Regions from separate parts of the Homo sapiens genome. Here region 1 is linked to region 2. Evidence: promoter capture Hi-C in human tissues and cell types (Jung and others, 2019). All regions are on one chromosome and are shown on one strand. The core of a region is centred on a gene start or on the middle of the fragment in contact, and the rest is flanking DNA. Distances in the headings are between cores, read along the strand shown. Region 1 has its middle 46 kb from the start of MELK. Region 2 holds the start of MELK (maternal embryonic leucine zipper kinase).

Evidence for each region. The method cuts DNA at HindIII sites, captures the fragments that hold promoters and counts their contacts. A contact is called where the count stands out against the background at its distance.
Region 1: a contact is called between a fragment that was not itself captured here and the fragment with the promoter of MELK in region 2, in 1 of the 25 tissues and cell types used here (stomach).

What each region holds. Positions count from the first base shown.
Region 1 is chr9:36,523,363-36,530,782 of GRCh38, reverse strand. No RefSeq gene overlaps it. Among named protein-coding and RNA genes, the nearest start is that of MELK, 46 kb to the left of the region's middle. The HindIII fragment of the contact is 9,163 bases long and covers 1-6,130 here.
Region 2 is chr9:36,570,776-36,577,760 of GRCh38, reverse strand. MELK (maternal embryonic leucine zipper kinase) reads right to left here and starts at 4,866. Exons shown (of 18, transcript NM_014791.4): 1 at 4,754-4,866. RefSeq lists a silencer at 4,785-5,064 and an enhancer at 5,648-6,147. The HindIII fragment of the contact is 26,418 bases long and covers 1-6,985 here.

The sequences.
Region 1 (7,420 bases), core at 300-2,799, 44 kb after region 2:
CTCTTTTTCATCTCTGGGTTCAGTTTTTCCTGTGCTGGCTCGAGCCTCAGGCAGATTCTCCCCCTCAAGATGCTGCTGCGGCTCAATCCACATATCTTCTCTTAATCAATTACTGCAGGAAAAGAAAAGTCTGCTTCTCTGACAGTTTATAAAAATATCCTGGAAAGTGAGTTTCTTTGGCCCCAATTGTCCTGACTTGGCTCTTATGCCTGTCCCTGAACAATTCACTGTCATCAAGGAAATGTTCTATGTGAATTGGCTAAGGCTTAAGTCAACATAGCCACCTGTGGCCCTAGGGACAAAATCAGCATCATTATAAGTCACAAGTCTTCTGTAACAGACATTAATTCAAGTACAAGGACAGACTTTACATCAGGAGTTGACATCAGGGGTGTATTTTTCTCACATCATAAAAAGTCTGAAGTCAGGCCAGGCGCTGTAGCTCACACCTGTATTCCCAGCACTTTGGGAGGCCAAGGCGGGTGGATCATTTAAGGTCAGGAATTTGAGACCAGCCTGGCCAACATGGTGAAAACCCTGTCTCTACTAAAAATACAAAAATTAGCCAGGCATAGTGGTGCACGCCTGTAATCCCTGCTACTTGGGAGGCTGAGGCAGGAGAATCACTTGAACCTGGAAGGCAGAGGTTGCAGTGAGCCGAGATTGACTGCACCACTGCACCCCAGTCTGGGCAAGAAAATGAGACTCTGTGTCAAAAACACACACACACAAAAGTCTGAAGTCATATAGTAACATGTCGACCCAGTGGCTCAAGGACTTGGGGTTGGTAGAGCTGGGATTCTCTTGATTTTTTACTGTTTCTCACAAGATGGGTGTCCCAATTCCAGTTATGTATCTTTTGTTTGTTTGTTTGCTTGTTTGTTTTTTGAGACAGAGTCTCGCTCTGTCACCCAGACTGGAGTGCAGTGGCACGATCTCTGCTCACTGCATCCTCCGCCTCCCAGAGGCGATTCTCCTGCCTCAGCCTCCCAAGTAGCTGGGATTACTGGGGCGCGCCACCATGCCCAGCTAATTTTTGTATTTTTAGTAGAGACGGGGTTTCAACATGTTGGCCAGGATGGTCTTGATCTCTTGACCTCATGATCCACCCACCTCGGCCTCCCAAAGTGCTGGGATTACAGGCGTGAGCCACCCCATCTGGCCATGTCTTTTATTTTTATTTCTATTATTTTTTTGAGATGGAGTCTCACTCTGTCACCCAGGCTGGAGTGCAGTGGCACCTCTTGGCTCACTGCAATCTCCTGCTCCCGGGTTCAAGTGATTCTCCTGCCTCAGCCTCCCCAGTAGCTGTGATTACAGGTGCATGCCACAAAGCTTGGCTAATTTTTGTATTTTTTTTTAGATGGAGTCTCCTTTCGCCCAGGCTGGAGTGCAGTGGCATAATCTCGGTTCACTGTAACCTCCACTTTCTGGGTTCAAGCGATTCTGCATCAGCCTCCCAAGTAGCTGAGATTACAGGCGCCTGCTTCCACATCCGTCTGATTTTTGTATTATTTTATTTTTTTTTTTATTTTTTTTTTTGAGATGGAGTCTTGCTCTGTTGCCCAGGCTGGACTGCAATGGCGCGATCTCGGCTCACTGCAACCCCTGCCTCCCAGGTTCAAGTGATTCTCCTGTCTCAGCTTCCCAAGTAGCTGGGATTACAGGCGCATGCTGCCACGCCCGGCTAATTTTTGTATTTTTAGTAGAGACAGGGTTTCACCATGTTGGCCAGGCTGGTCTCAAACTCCTGACCTCAGGTGATCCGCCTGTCTCAACCACCCAAAGTGCTGGGATTATAGGCATGAGCCACTGTGCCAGGCCTAATTTTTGTATTTTTAGTAGAGACAGGATTTCACCATGTTGGCCAGGCTGATCTGAAACTCCTGACCTCAAGAGATCTGCCTGCCTCGGCCTCCCAAAGTGCTGGGATTACAGGTGTGAGCCACTGTGCCCGGCCCAGTTCTAGTCATTTATATCTACCTGGATATCATGTCTGTTTTGGGATACATACCATCTGGCCACTGCTTGCTATAAGGTTGTTGGGAAAGTGAGTACAAGTGAGGCAGGCAAGGGAAAACAGGGTTGGGAATGAGAATGGGGTTATTCAACCCACAGTCTGCCATATCACACCCTGGACATAGAAATGCATCAGCTGGTACTTGGGAGGCAGGCGGATCACTAGAGTTCAGGAGTTCGAGACCAGCCTGGCCAATGTGTTGAAACCCTGTCTCTATTAAAAATACACACACACACACACACAAAAATAGCTGGGCATGGTGGTGTGTGCCTGTAGTCCCAGCTATCTGAGAGGCTGAGGCAGGAGAATCACTTGAACTTGGGAGGCAGATGTTGTGATAAGCCGAGATTGTACCACTGCACTCCAGCCTTGGCGACAGAGCAAGACTGTCTCAAAAAAAAAAAAAAAAAAAGGATGTCTCTTCCCCGGAAAAATTGGAGTACACGTAGCGTAAGAGGTCTAAGGAGACTTTGGATGGCAAACATGAGAAATGACCACAATTCTAGTGTCCTTCCCTTTAATTCTGCCAAAGTATTTTCTTTCTATGGAAAGCTCAGAATAAATCCTGCTGATCTCTTACTGGTAATTGCCAAGCTCTGTAGAAATTTAAGACATTTTCTTATCGGATCTCATTTTTTGTTTGACCCTGTTGATTACTCCCTCCCTTCTGCAGCTCCTCACTTATTCATTAAAACTCCATTTCCTGGCCTGGATGGGTGGCTCACGCCTATAATCCTAGCAATTTGGGAGGACGAGGTGGGTAGATTGCTTGAGCTCAGAAGTTCAAGACCAGCCTGGGCAACATGACAAAACCCTGTCTCAACCAAAAATACAAACATTAGCCAGGTGTGGTGGCTTGCACCTGTAGTCCCAGCTACTTGGGGGGTTGAGGTAGGAGGATCCCTGAGCCCAGGAGCCGGAGGTTGCAGTGAGCTGAGATCATGCCACTGCACTCCAGCCTGGGTACGAGTGAGACCCTGTCTCAAAAACAAAAACAGGCCGGGCTCGGTGGCTCACGCCTGTAATCCCAGCACTTTGGGAGGCCGAGGCGGGCAGATCACCTGAGGTTGGGAGTTCGAGACCAGCCTGGCCAACATGGAGAAACCCTGTCTCTGCTAAAAATACAAAATTAGCTGGGCATGGTGGCACATGCCTGTAATCCCAGCTACTCGGGAGGCTGAGGCAGGAGAATCACTTGAACCCGGGAGGCGGAGGTTGCGGTGAGCTGAGATTGCGCCATTGCACTCCAGCCTGGACAACAAGAGTGAAACTCTGTTTCAAAAAAAACAAAAACAAAAACAAAAAAACCTCCATTTCCCATGGCCTGGCATGGTGGCTCACACCTGTAATCCCAGCACCATCACTTTGGGAGGCTGAGGTAGGAGGATCGCTTGAGGCCAAGAGTTCAAGACCAGTGTGGGCAACATAGCAAGACACTGTCTGAAACAAAAACACCAAAAAACTCTGTTCCCCTTGGTTCTGTGAAACTGAGCTCCCTTGGTTGTACTTGCACCTCTCTGATCATGTTATTTGTGCATTTGAGAGGCCCTTTTTCCTTTCCCTGTCCCACACCTATGAAATGGACTGTGGCCAAATTCTCATTCAGTCTGCTCTCTTCTTTTTGTCATTTTTCTTGAACTGACTGCTCAGTTCAGGTATTTTCATTCTTAGTTCTACAATAAAGAAATTTAAGGTTGTTAATCTTCTTGTAAGTGGAGATTTGGCCCGTTCCCATAAGCTCTGTTACGTAGTGCTCTCCTTTTAGTAAATATCTAAATAGATTTTGCTTTCCTTGAATTTATTTTGTGATATGAATAATGCATAGTCCGCTTTCTTTTTGTTTGCACTTGCCTGTTGTCTTTTCCTAAAGGTTACGTTTAATGTTTCTGCTCATTCATATGTTGCATACACTTGACTTAAATACATACACTTGACTTCCATCTACTACGCATACTAACCCTCTTGACTTGCCATTAGTTTAAATGCCAGTGGCTGCACACCCAGGGATTTCTGAATTTGTGGCCCACTACTAAAAGCACTTTGAATGTCCTTGATATTCTTCATGTAAGAGATACTCCTGGCCAGGCACGGTGGCTCACGCCTGTAATCCTAGCACTTTGGGAGGCCAAGGAGGGTGGATCACCTGCGGTCAGGAGTTCAAGACCAGCCTGGCCAACATAGTGAAACCCCGTCTCTACTAAAAAAAATATAAAAAATTAGCTGGGCATGGTGGCGGTTGCCTGTAATCCCAGCTACTAGGGAGGCTGAGGCAGGAGAATCGCTTGAACCTAAGAGGCGGAGGTTGCAGTGAGCCGAGATCATGCCATTGCACTCCAGCCTGGGCAACAAGAGTGAAACTCCGTCTCAAAAAAAAAGAGATACTCCCTTAACAGGGGATGTATCTCCTGTAAGGGGATGAACTGTGCCAACTGAATCAGGTAGGGTTCTTTGGTTGCAAGCAACAGAAAGCGGTCATGTTTAACTTAAGAAAAAATGATATGAGCTAACTCACAGAAGAAAGGGAATGGCTGAAGAACCAAATCCCCTATCACTTACAGGGGAACATGCAAATTTATTAAACATAGTGTAAAATGTCTTTCATTCCTTTCCCTTAGCCAGACACTGTTCCAAGCGCTAGGAAACCAGTGGAGAACATGATAAAAACAACCTCTGTTTTGAAGACAAATATAGCTAGCACTGATCTGGATCCATGCCTATGGCCCAACAGGCTCTTTTCCTACCACATTTCAATACATACCCTGAATACAACAGCCAGGCACTTCCCTGGTGCACCAGACTCTTTAATGTTTCCATAACTTTGATCACGAAATTTTCTCTGTACTCATTATCCTTTCCTGCAAAGTCCTCTCTCACATCTTTGCTTGGTGACCTTATTCTACTCAGTCTTCAAAAATCAAACAAAAGGTCACCACTATTAGGAGATCAACAACCTCCGCCCCCCTTTTCCTTTTCAATTCAAAACTATTTTAGTTGTAGTCAAAGATGCTGGCTGATTAAGATTAAAATGTCATTTTCATTATTAATAAAGTCTAGGTTGGAGAACATGGCTTATGTTTGAGGCCAAATGACGTTATTAATATTTGGTTTTATGCTGGGCACGGTGGCTCATGCCTGTAGTTCTAGCACTTTGGGAGGCTGATCTAGGAGGATCTCTGGAGCCCAGGAGTTCAAGACCAGCCTGGGCAACATAGGGTAACCCTGTCTCTACCAAAAAAAAACAAAAACAAAAACACTACCTGGGCTTGGTGGCATATGCCTGAGTAGTTGGGAAGCTACTCAGGAGACTGAAGTGGGAGGATCACTTGAACCCAGGAGCTTAAGACCAGGCTGGGCAACATAAGGAGACCATATATCTACAAATAATTTTTTTTTAATTAGCTGAGAATGATGGTGTGCATCTGTGGTCCCAGCTACTCGGGAGGATGAGCCTGGGAGGTCGAGGCTGCAATAAGCCATGATTTCACCACTGAATTCCAGCCTGGGCAAAGGGAACCAGACTCTATAAAAAAGAAAAAGATGGGCCGGGCGCAGTGGCTTATGCCTGTAATCCCAGCACTTTGGGAGGTCGAGGCAGGCGGATCACGAGCTCAAGAGATCAAGACCATCCTGGCCAACATGGTGAAATCCTGTTTCCACTAAAAATACAAAAATTAGCTGGGCGTGGTGGCGGGCACCTGTAGTCCCAGCTACATGGGAGGCAGGGGAATTGCTTGAACCCGGAGGCGGAGGTTGCAGTGAGCCGAGATCAGCCACTGCACTCCAGCCTGGGCAACAGAGCCAGAATCTGTCTCAAAAATAAATAAATAAATAAATAAATAAATAAATAAATAAATAAATAAATAAAATAAGGCCAGGCACGGTGACTCATACCTGTAATCCCAGCACTTTGGGAGGCCAAGGCAGGCAGATCACCTGAGGTTGGGAGTTTGAGACCAGCCTGACCAACATGGAGAAAGCCTGTCTCTACTAAAAATACACACACACAAAAATTAGCCAGGCGTGGTGGCGCATGCCTGTAATCCCAGCTACTCCAGAGGCTGAGGCAGGAGAATCACTTGAACCCAGGAGACAGATGTTGAGGTGAGCCGAGATTGCACCATTGCACTCCAGCCTGGGCAACAAGAGCAAAACTCCATCTCCAAAAAATAAATAAATAAATAAATAAAATAAATTAAAAAAATAAAAAGATTTGGACACAGAATTTAAAAAAATTAAATTTTATTGTAGCTAATAAATTATTATTTTAAAAACATTTCAAATTATTTTTATCTTATTTTATCTATTAGCTATAGAAAAATATTTTTGTGACCAGTGATATTTAATGAGTACAATGTGATCGAATGTATTTCTTTATTCTAAGAATATTTTAAAATAATTTGTGATATAGAAATTTAAAGGTCTGTTTTTTTATTTTTTCTTGAGATAGAGTCTTGCTCTGTCATCCAGGTTGGAGTGCGGTGGTGCAATTTCAGCTCACTGCAACCTCCACCTCCTGGGTTCAAGCAATTGTCATGCCTCAGCCTCCCAAGTAGCTAAGACTACAGGCACCTGCCACCACGCCCGGATAATTTTTGTATTTTTATTAGCCATTGCACCCAGCCCACGTCTGTTCTAATTTCAGCTTTTGTGGATGCTTTGTTTGGAGACTGTCATACTAAAAAAGATGTTTCACAGTGACATGTAGATCCACAACTATACTAAAACTTGATATCCTCTTTCAATTATAAATACTATGCACAGCATTTTGTTGAAATCCAACTAGTAAATTTTCATCTTCCTTTAATCAATTTTCCTTACAAACTATTTGGAAGATGTGGCACTCCAATAGTTTTAAGAAATGGGTTAGGGCCAGGCATGGTGGCTCATGCCTGTAATCCCAGCACTTTGGGAGGCCGCGGCAGGCAGATCACTTGAGGCCAGGAGTTCGAGACCAGCCTGGCCAACACGGTGAAACCCCTTCTCTACTAAAAATACAAAAATTGAGGCCGAGCCTGGTGGCTCACGCCTGTAATCCCAACACTGTAGGAGGTCAAGGCGGGTGGATCACCTGAGGTCAGGAGTTCGAGACCAGCCTGGCTGACATGGTGAAACCCTGTCTCTACAAAAATACAAAAAGAATTAGCTGGGCGTGGTGGCGGGCACTTGTAATCCCAGCTACTCGGGAGGCTGAGGCAGGAAAATTGCTTGAACCCGGGAGGCAGAGGTTGCAGTGAGCCGAGATCGCACCATTGCACTCCAGCCTGGGCAACAAGAGCGAAACTCCGTCTCAAAAAACAAAAAGATACAAAAATTAGTCAGGTGTCATGGCACGCACCTGCAGTCTCAGCTACTCGGGAGGCTGAGGCAGAAGAATGGCTTGAACTTGGGAGACGGAGGCTG
Region 2 (6,985 bases), core at 3,617-6,116:
AGAATCACTTGAACCCGGGAAGCAGAGGTTGCGGTGAGCCGAGATCATGCCACTGCACTCCAGCCTGGGTAACAAGCGAAGCTGTGTCTCAAAAAAATAAATAAAAATTAAAAATTAAAATCTAGTCGAGGCCAGGTGCAGTGGCTCACGCCTGTAATCCCAGCACTTTGGCAGGCTGAGGTGGGTGGATCACTTGAGGCCAGGAGTCACATGCCACCACTCCTGGCTAGTTTGTTTGTTTGTTTGAGATGGAGTCTTGCTCTGGTGCCCAGGCTGCAGTGCAGTAGTGCGATCTCAGCTCACTGCAACCTGCGCCTCCCAGGTTCAAGCTATTTTCCTGCCTCAGCCTCCCAAGTAGCTGGGACTACAGGCGAACAACAACACCATACCCGGCTAATTTTTGTATTTTTAGTAGGGATGGGGTTTCGCCATGTTGGCCAGGCTGGTCTCAGACTCCTGACCTCAGGTGATCCACCCTCCTTGGCCTCCCAAAGTGCTGGGATTACAGGCGTGAGCCATCGCCCTGGCCAAGCAAGCCTGTTTAAGCCTCAAACTGATGAGTGGCAGGTGCCACGTAAACTACCTTCAAATTCTCTGTTCTTCACCCTGCCCTTATCCAGAACTGAGTGACTAGCATGTTACTAAGCCTTAATAATGGCCATGAATTTGGAAGACCTAGAGTGTGAGTTCAACCTCAGAAGTGTGGTGAGCTTATAAAGGAAGACAGAGCTTAATAAGAGAAGGCCCTTCATACAATGATGAGTAGTCTTCTTAAAATTGAGGTGGAAAAAATTCTGAATGAACTTATCAAAACCCCAAAAGCCACAAAGGACATTTTAAAAATATCATTTTTCTATGCCTGAAACACTGATTCCATGAATCATTTTACTTGGAGAGAAAAAGAAAATTATTATCAGCAAGTAAAAAACGGCTGGGCACAATGGCTCCCGCCTGTAATCCTAGCACTTTGGTAGGCCAAGGCAGGTGGATCACCTGAGGTCAGGAGTTCGAGACCAGCCTGACCAACATGCAGAAACCCCGTCTCTACTAAAAATACAAAAATTAGCCGGGCGTGGTGATGCACACCTGTAATCCCAGCTGCTAGGGAGGCTGAGGAAGGAGAATCGCTTGAACCCAGGAGGTGGAGGTTGCAGTGACCCGCGATCACGCCACTGCACTCTGGCCTGCACGACAGGAGTGAGACTCCAGCTCAAAAACAAACAAAAAAAATTTGGTCAATGAATAGAAAACTAGAGCAGAAGCTTTAGAAGGAAAAATATCGACACTCAAGAAAAAAATTAAATCAGCTTTAAAAAACAAGGTTCAGTCTTCAACATCAAAGCAGAAATAGCACACAAAAAGATAACATGCAAAACGACATTCTGATAAAATAAACAATATTAAGCCATTTCCTAGGAAGAGATCACACTGGACCCAACTTAATAAGTAGGTTGAACATTTAACCTAACGAAATCTGCATGAACACAGTAGGCAAACATTAGAAGAAGCAAGGTCAGGTCCCAGTACTGAGGGAAAACTGTTGATAGAAAATGAAACATTCTGCTTCCACTGGAGTAGAAAAAGTTACTCAAGGCAAGGAGATATCACAGAGGACAAATTTATTCTCACTGGGCACCTGAAGGCACAGGATTAAATACTTTAAACAGCAACACTAATTCAGAAATATTTTAAAGGGCATTTGTCAGTGGGGCAAATGTGGGGATAAACTGGAACCTCATCCTAAAAACAAACAGGAACCATAGGACTAAGAAATTCCAAAAGGCAATAAAAACAGTAAAAGTATAGAGGTCAACCTAAGGCTCAGAAATCTTTGGAATCCTGATACAGAAGAAAAAAGAGAGCAGGAGAATGGAAATGGAGGAACACTGGACTATAAATCTGAATGCACATGTTTACATTCCATGCAAAGGACTGGGCTATTTCAAATTGTCACTCAGAAAGAGAAAGCAATTTGTAAGATGCTGGAATTCACTTCCCAGATTAGGGATTTAAGAGTGTCATAATTAACTTAATAGACTTCTCCCAAAAGAGTTATAAACATCCCAGTCATGGCCTCTGGAAAACTAGCAGAGATGGGCAAGTTGTTTATTTAACAACTAAGGTAAGACTGAAGCCATGCACTTTTTTTTTTCTTTCTTTCTTCCATTTTCTCTATCTACCCGCTTCTCTCAAATTACATCATGTCTTTGGATGAGTAATACCAATGTGGGCCTAGATTATAGCTACTGAATCAAGGGAATATCGTTGTTGCTGCAATGTGAGAAAACTGGTGCTTACATTACAAACTCCTACACTAATAGCAGATTATACTTGATTTGTAAATCTTTGTGAATGTGGAGCTGGTTCTAAATATTCTCATGTGCCCTGTTTATCCTCTAGAGTTTGTTAATATAGAATACAGAAAAGCCTTGAGAACAGAGTAACCCAACTTTGTAGCTGCTGAAGGAGGTATATTATCAGTCAACGCGGAAGACAGCCTCTCAACTGTGAATAATGAAGAAGGAAATTAGACCCCAATCAGACACCTGAGTGCCCTTCTGGGCTTGACTAAATAAATAGAAGAATTGGGGGTATATATAATTGGGTTTTGTTTTTGTTTTTGTTTTTGAGACGGAGTCTTGCTCTCTTGCCCAGGCTGGAGTGCAGTGGCGTAATCTCGGCTCACTGCAACCTCCGCCCTCTGAGTTCAAGCAATTCTGCCTCAGCCTCCCAAGTAGCTGGGATTACAGGTGTGCGCCACCACGCCCGGCTAATTTTTTGTATTTTTAGTAAAGATGGGGTTTCACCATCTTGGCCAGGCTGGTCTTGAACTCCTGACCTCACAATCCATCTGCCTCGGCCTCCCAAAGTGCTGGGATTACAGGCGTGAGCCACCGCGCCCGGCCTATAATTGGGGTCTTTAACTTCTCAGAAGAGCAAGGAATTGGGATAATGAGAAGACGTTTATGGTTAAATTTTAAAGGATAGCAACAAATTGGGGGCATTTTTTAACAATATTATTTGGGCTATTCTATTACTTGCCGCATAAATACATTTACCTTATCTACAGAGCTTGGAAAGACACTGATGCTGAGGATAATTTCAAACAGGAAGTAGAATACAGAATGGTTTTTTGGGTTTTGTCTGTTTATTTGCTTGAGACAGGGTCTCGTTCTGTCACCTAGGCTGGAGTGCAGTAGCTAGATCTCGGCTCACCGCAACCTCCGCCTCCTGGGTTCCAGAGATGCTCGTGCCTCAGCCTCCCCAGTTGCTGGGATTACAGGCATGCGCCACCATGCCCGGTTAATTTTTTTTTTTTTTTTTTTTTTTGTATTTTTAGTAGAGACGGGGTTTCGCCATGTTGGCCAGGCTGGTCTAGAACTCCTGGCCTCAAGTGATCCGCCCACCTCGGCCTCCCCAAGTGCTGGGATTACAAGCGTGAGCCACCACGCCGGGCTCAGAATGGTTTATAATGTGGCCTGTAACACATTTAATTAGCATCCTGCCCTGCTCCCTTGCAAAGGCTTCTGGGAGCACCAACAATGAGGCACTCATTGGGATTGATCTGCCCATCTAGTTGGTCCACAGTAGTTACACAGAAAGGACAGACCCTTGGGAGAAACAAGCCCACGAAGGCCCAGTAAGGGCTTTTCTGATTTTTCTGATTTTCTAGCCAGACTCCATGGGAAACAGAAACCAAAATTTAAACCAAAGTTAGGAACACTGGCCTCTAAACAACAATCCAGGCTCCTGATACTCACCTCATTCCACTAACAAAGGAGAAATACCAAAGGTAATTACCCGTCCTAAGTGCTAGGGACCTGATTCCTCTCTTGGGCAGCCTTCCCTGAGTCTACCCTTTCCAGCTCCCACAACCCTACACCAGGTTTCTTGGTGGGAGCAATCCTGCTGCTCCTATTACTGATACAGCATTCGGTGAAAATTCCCCTTTTAGGCCGGGCGTGGTGGCTCACGCCTGTAATCCCAGCACTCTGGGAGGCCAAGGCGGGCGGATCACCTGAGGACACGAGCTGGAGACCAGCCTGGCCAACGTGGTGAAACCCCGTCTCTACTAAAAATACAAAAAATGAGCCGGGCGTGGTGGCGGATGTCTGTAAGCTCAGCTACTCGGGAGGCTGAGGCAGAAGAATCGCTTGAACTTGGGAGGCGGAGGTTGCGGTGAGCCGAGATCGCGCCATTGCACTCCAGCCTGGGCAACAAGAGCGAAACTCCGTCTTGAAGAAAAAGAAAAAAAATTCCCCTTTTAGTGTGAGCCTCTGAAGCCACTACTCTGGGGAGATGATAGGAGAGGATGGATTTGGACTCTGAAAAGGTAGTGATAACACATCTCCTTTTTTATTGCACTGCCCCAGTAAACTGAGTTGTACAAACAGAAAAAACTCGAAACCCTTCTGTCAACTTTTTTCGCGGGGAAGAGTCACGGAAACTGGAAACGGGAAATGGGAATTCACGTCTATCGCAGCCTCCTAGGTGGCAAACGCTTAGCCTGAACACCTCTTCAATAACCCTGTTAAGTAGACACGGTCATTATCCCCACTTACGGAGAAGAAAACCGCGGGTCGGAAAGGTCAAATATCTTATCCAGGGAACAGGGCTGGTAAAGCGCGGGGCTCCGATGAAATCCTCCAGTCTCCCGAGAGCCAGGAGCAAACTGGGTTTGGGCCGCTGCGCCCCGCACAGCCCAGACCCCAGCCATCAACTGCGACTGCGGCGGGCAGGCGGGAGAACTGACCTGAGGGGCGGAGGGCACGGCTGAGCGGCGCCCGACAGAAGGACAGGGGCCTGCTGTCCTGAGAGACGCGGCTGGTACGGCGTTCCTAAGAATCTTTTCGATCGCCGGGTTGTGGCCGCTTCCGCCCGCCAAGGGAATCAAATCTCCCGGGCCGGAAGGGGCGGGGACGCGGCGGGGGCGCGCGCGGCGCCGGATCCCAGGGAAGCGGACGCGCACGGCAGGCGGGGGCGCGCACAGTGCCGGGGGGTTCTCACCGGGGCAACGGCTCGCGGTCGCTGTGGAGCCGTGAAAGGGATGGCCGGGAGGTCCACTGGGCTGCGAGGGGTGACTTGAGGCCTTGGTCTTGCCCCGGAGGGCACGTGATGATTTTCCAGGTGGCGTGGATATGCCAAGTCTCCACAGAACCCAACTTTCTTACGTTCTCTTCCTAAAATTGACGTGCCCTCTGGCAGTCACAGTTCTCATTTTCGTCCTCCCTTGCCCACTGGCCGTTCTCCCACCCAGCAAAGACAGGAATACCTCCCCCTCTCCAAAATGTGTTGCCACGAGGAATAAGAACCCCAGTAGCTGAGACTACAGGCACGCGCCACCACGCCTGGCTAAATTATTTGTGGGTAGAGACGGGATCTCGCTATGTTGGCCAGGCTGGTCTCGAACTCCTGGGCTCAAGCGATCCTCCCGCCTCAGCCTCCCAAAGTGCTGGGATTACAGGCGTGAGCCACTGTATCCGGCCCAGAAAATCTTTAGACAAATTAAACTTTACAGAGTTGAATTGACCAAAGAATGAGTCCAAAATCCAGTAATCCCTGGAACCAAAATAGGTTCAGAGTGATTCGGGCTGCCATATGTTCAAATAACATTTATGGACAGAAAAAGGAAAATGACTTACAGAAATTGCAGTCAAGTATGGAAACAGCTGGATTGGTTGCAACTCAACCTCTGACTATTTTGAGCACTGTTTAAACAGTTGGCCACCTGTGATTGGCCAAAACTCCGCTGCTGTGATTGACTGAGACTCGCTACTTGTTACAAGGTTACAGTCTCTTTACACATTTACAATTGTAGTTGTCTACAATTCACTATGTATGGAGAAACTGTTAGGCCAGGTGCAAAGGCTCACATCTATAATCCCAGCACTTTGGTGGGGGGGCGGGGGCAGATCATTTGGGGTCAGGAGTTCGAGACCAGCCTGACCAACATGATGAAACCCTGTCTCTACTAAAAATACAAAAAATTAGCCGGGCTTGGTGGCGCGAGCCTATAATCCCAGCTACTCAGGAGGTAGAGGCAGGAGAATCTCTTGATTCTCTCTGCTGGGAGGCAGAGGTTGCAGTGAGTAGAGATCGTGCCACTGCACTCCAGGCTGGGCAACAGAGCAAGACTCCGTCTCAAAAAAAGAGAAAGAGAGAAAGAGAGAGAGAAAAGAAAGAAAGGAAGAGAAGGGGAAGGGAAGGGGAAGGGAGGGGAAGGGAGGGGAAGGGAAGGGAAGGGAAAGGAAAGGAAGGGAGAGAAAGGGAGAGAGAGAAAGAAATAAATTGTTAGTCTGAACTTAAAATGCATAAGGAGGCAGCTTTATGCTAAACTTAATTTAACATGGTCATCTGAATCTTCAGCAAATCATAATCTTTTTGCTGGTGGAGGGTCTTGCCTCCATGCTGCTGATTGATCAGGGTGGTGGTTGCTAAACGTTGGGATGGCTGTGGCAATTTCCTAAAATAAAACAACAATGCTGCATCGATGGACACTTCCTTTCATGAAAGATTTCTCTGTAGCATGTGATGCTGTGTGATACCATTTCATCCACAGCAGGACTTCCTTCAAAGTTAGTTCTCTGAAATCTTGCCACTGCCTTATCAACAAAGTTTATGGAATATTCTAAATCTTTTGTTGTTATTTCAGCAATGATCACAGCATCTTCACCAAGAGGAGCTTCCATCTCAAGAAAGCACTCTCTCTTTGCTCATCCGTAAGAAGAAACTCCCCATCTATTCAAGTTGGATCATGAGATTGCAGCAGTTCAGTCACATATTCAGGCTTCACTTCCAATTCTAGTTCTCTTGCTGTTTCCACCAAATCTGCAGTTACTTCCACGAGTGAAGTCTTGAACCCCTCAAAGTCATCCATGAGGGTTGGAATTAATTTCTTCCCAACTCCTGTTAATGTTGATATGGTGACCTCTTCCCATTAATCATAAATGTTCTTTTTTTTTTTTTTGGAGATGGAGTCTCACTC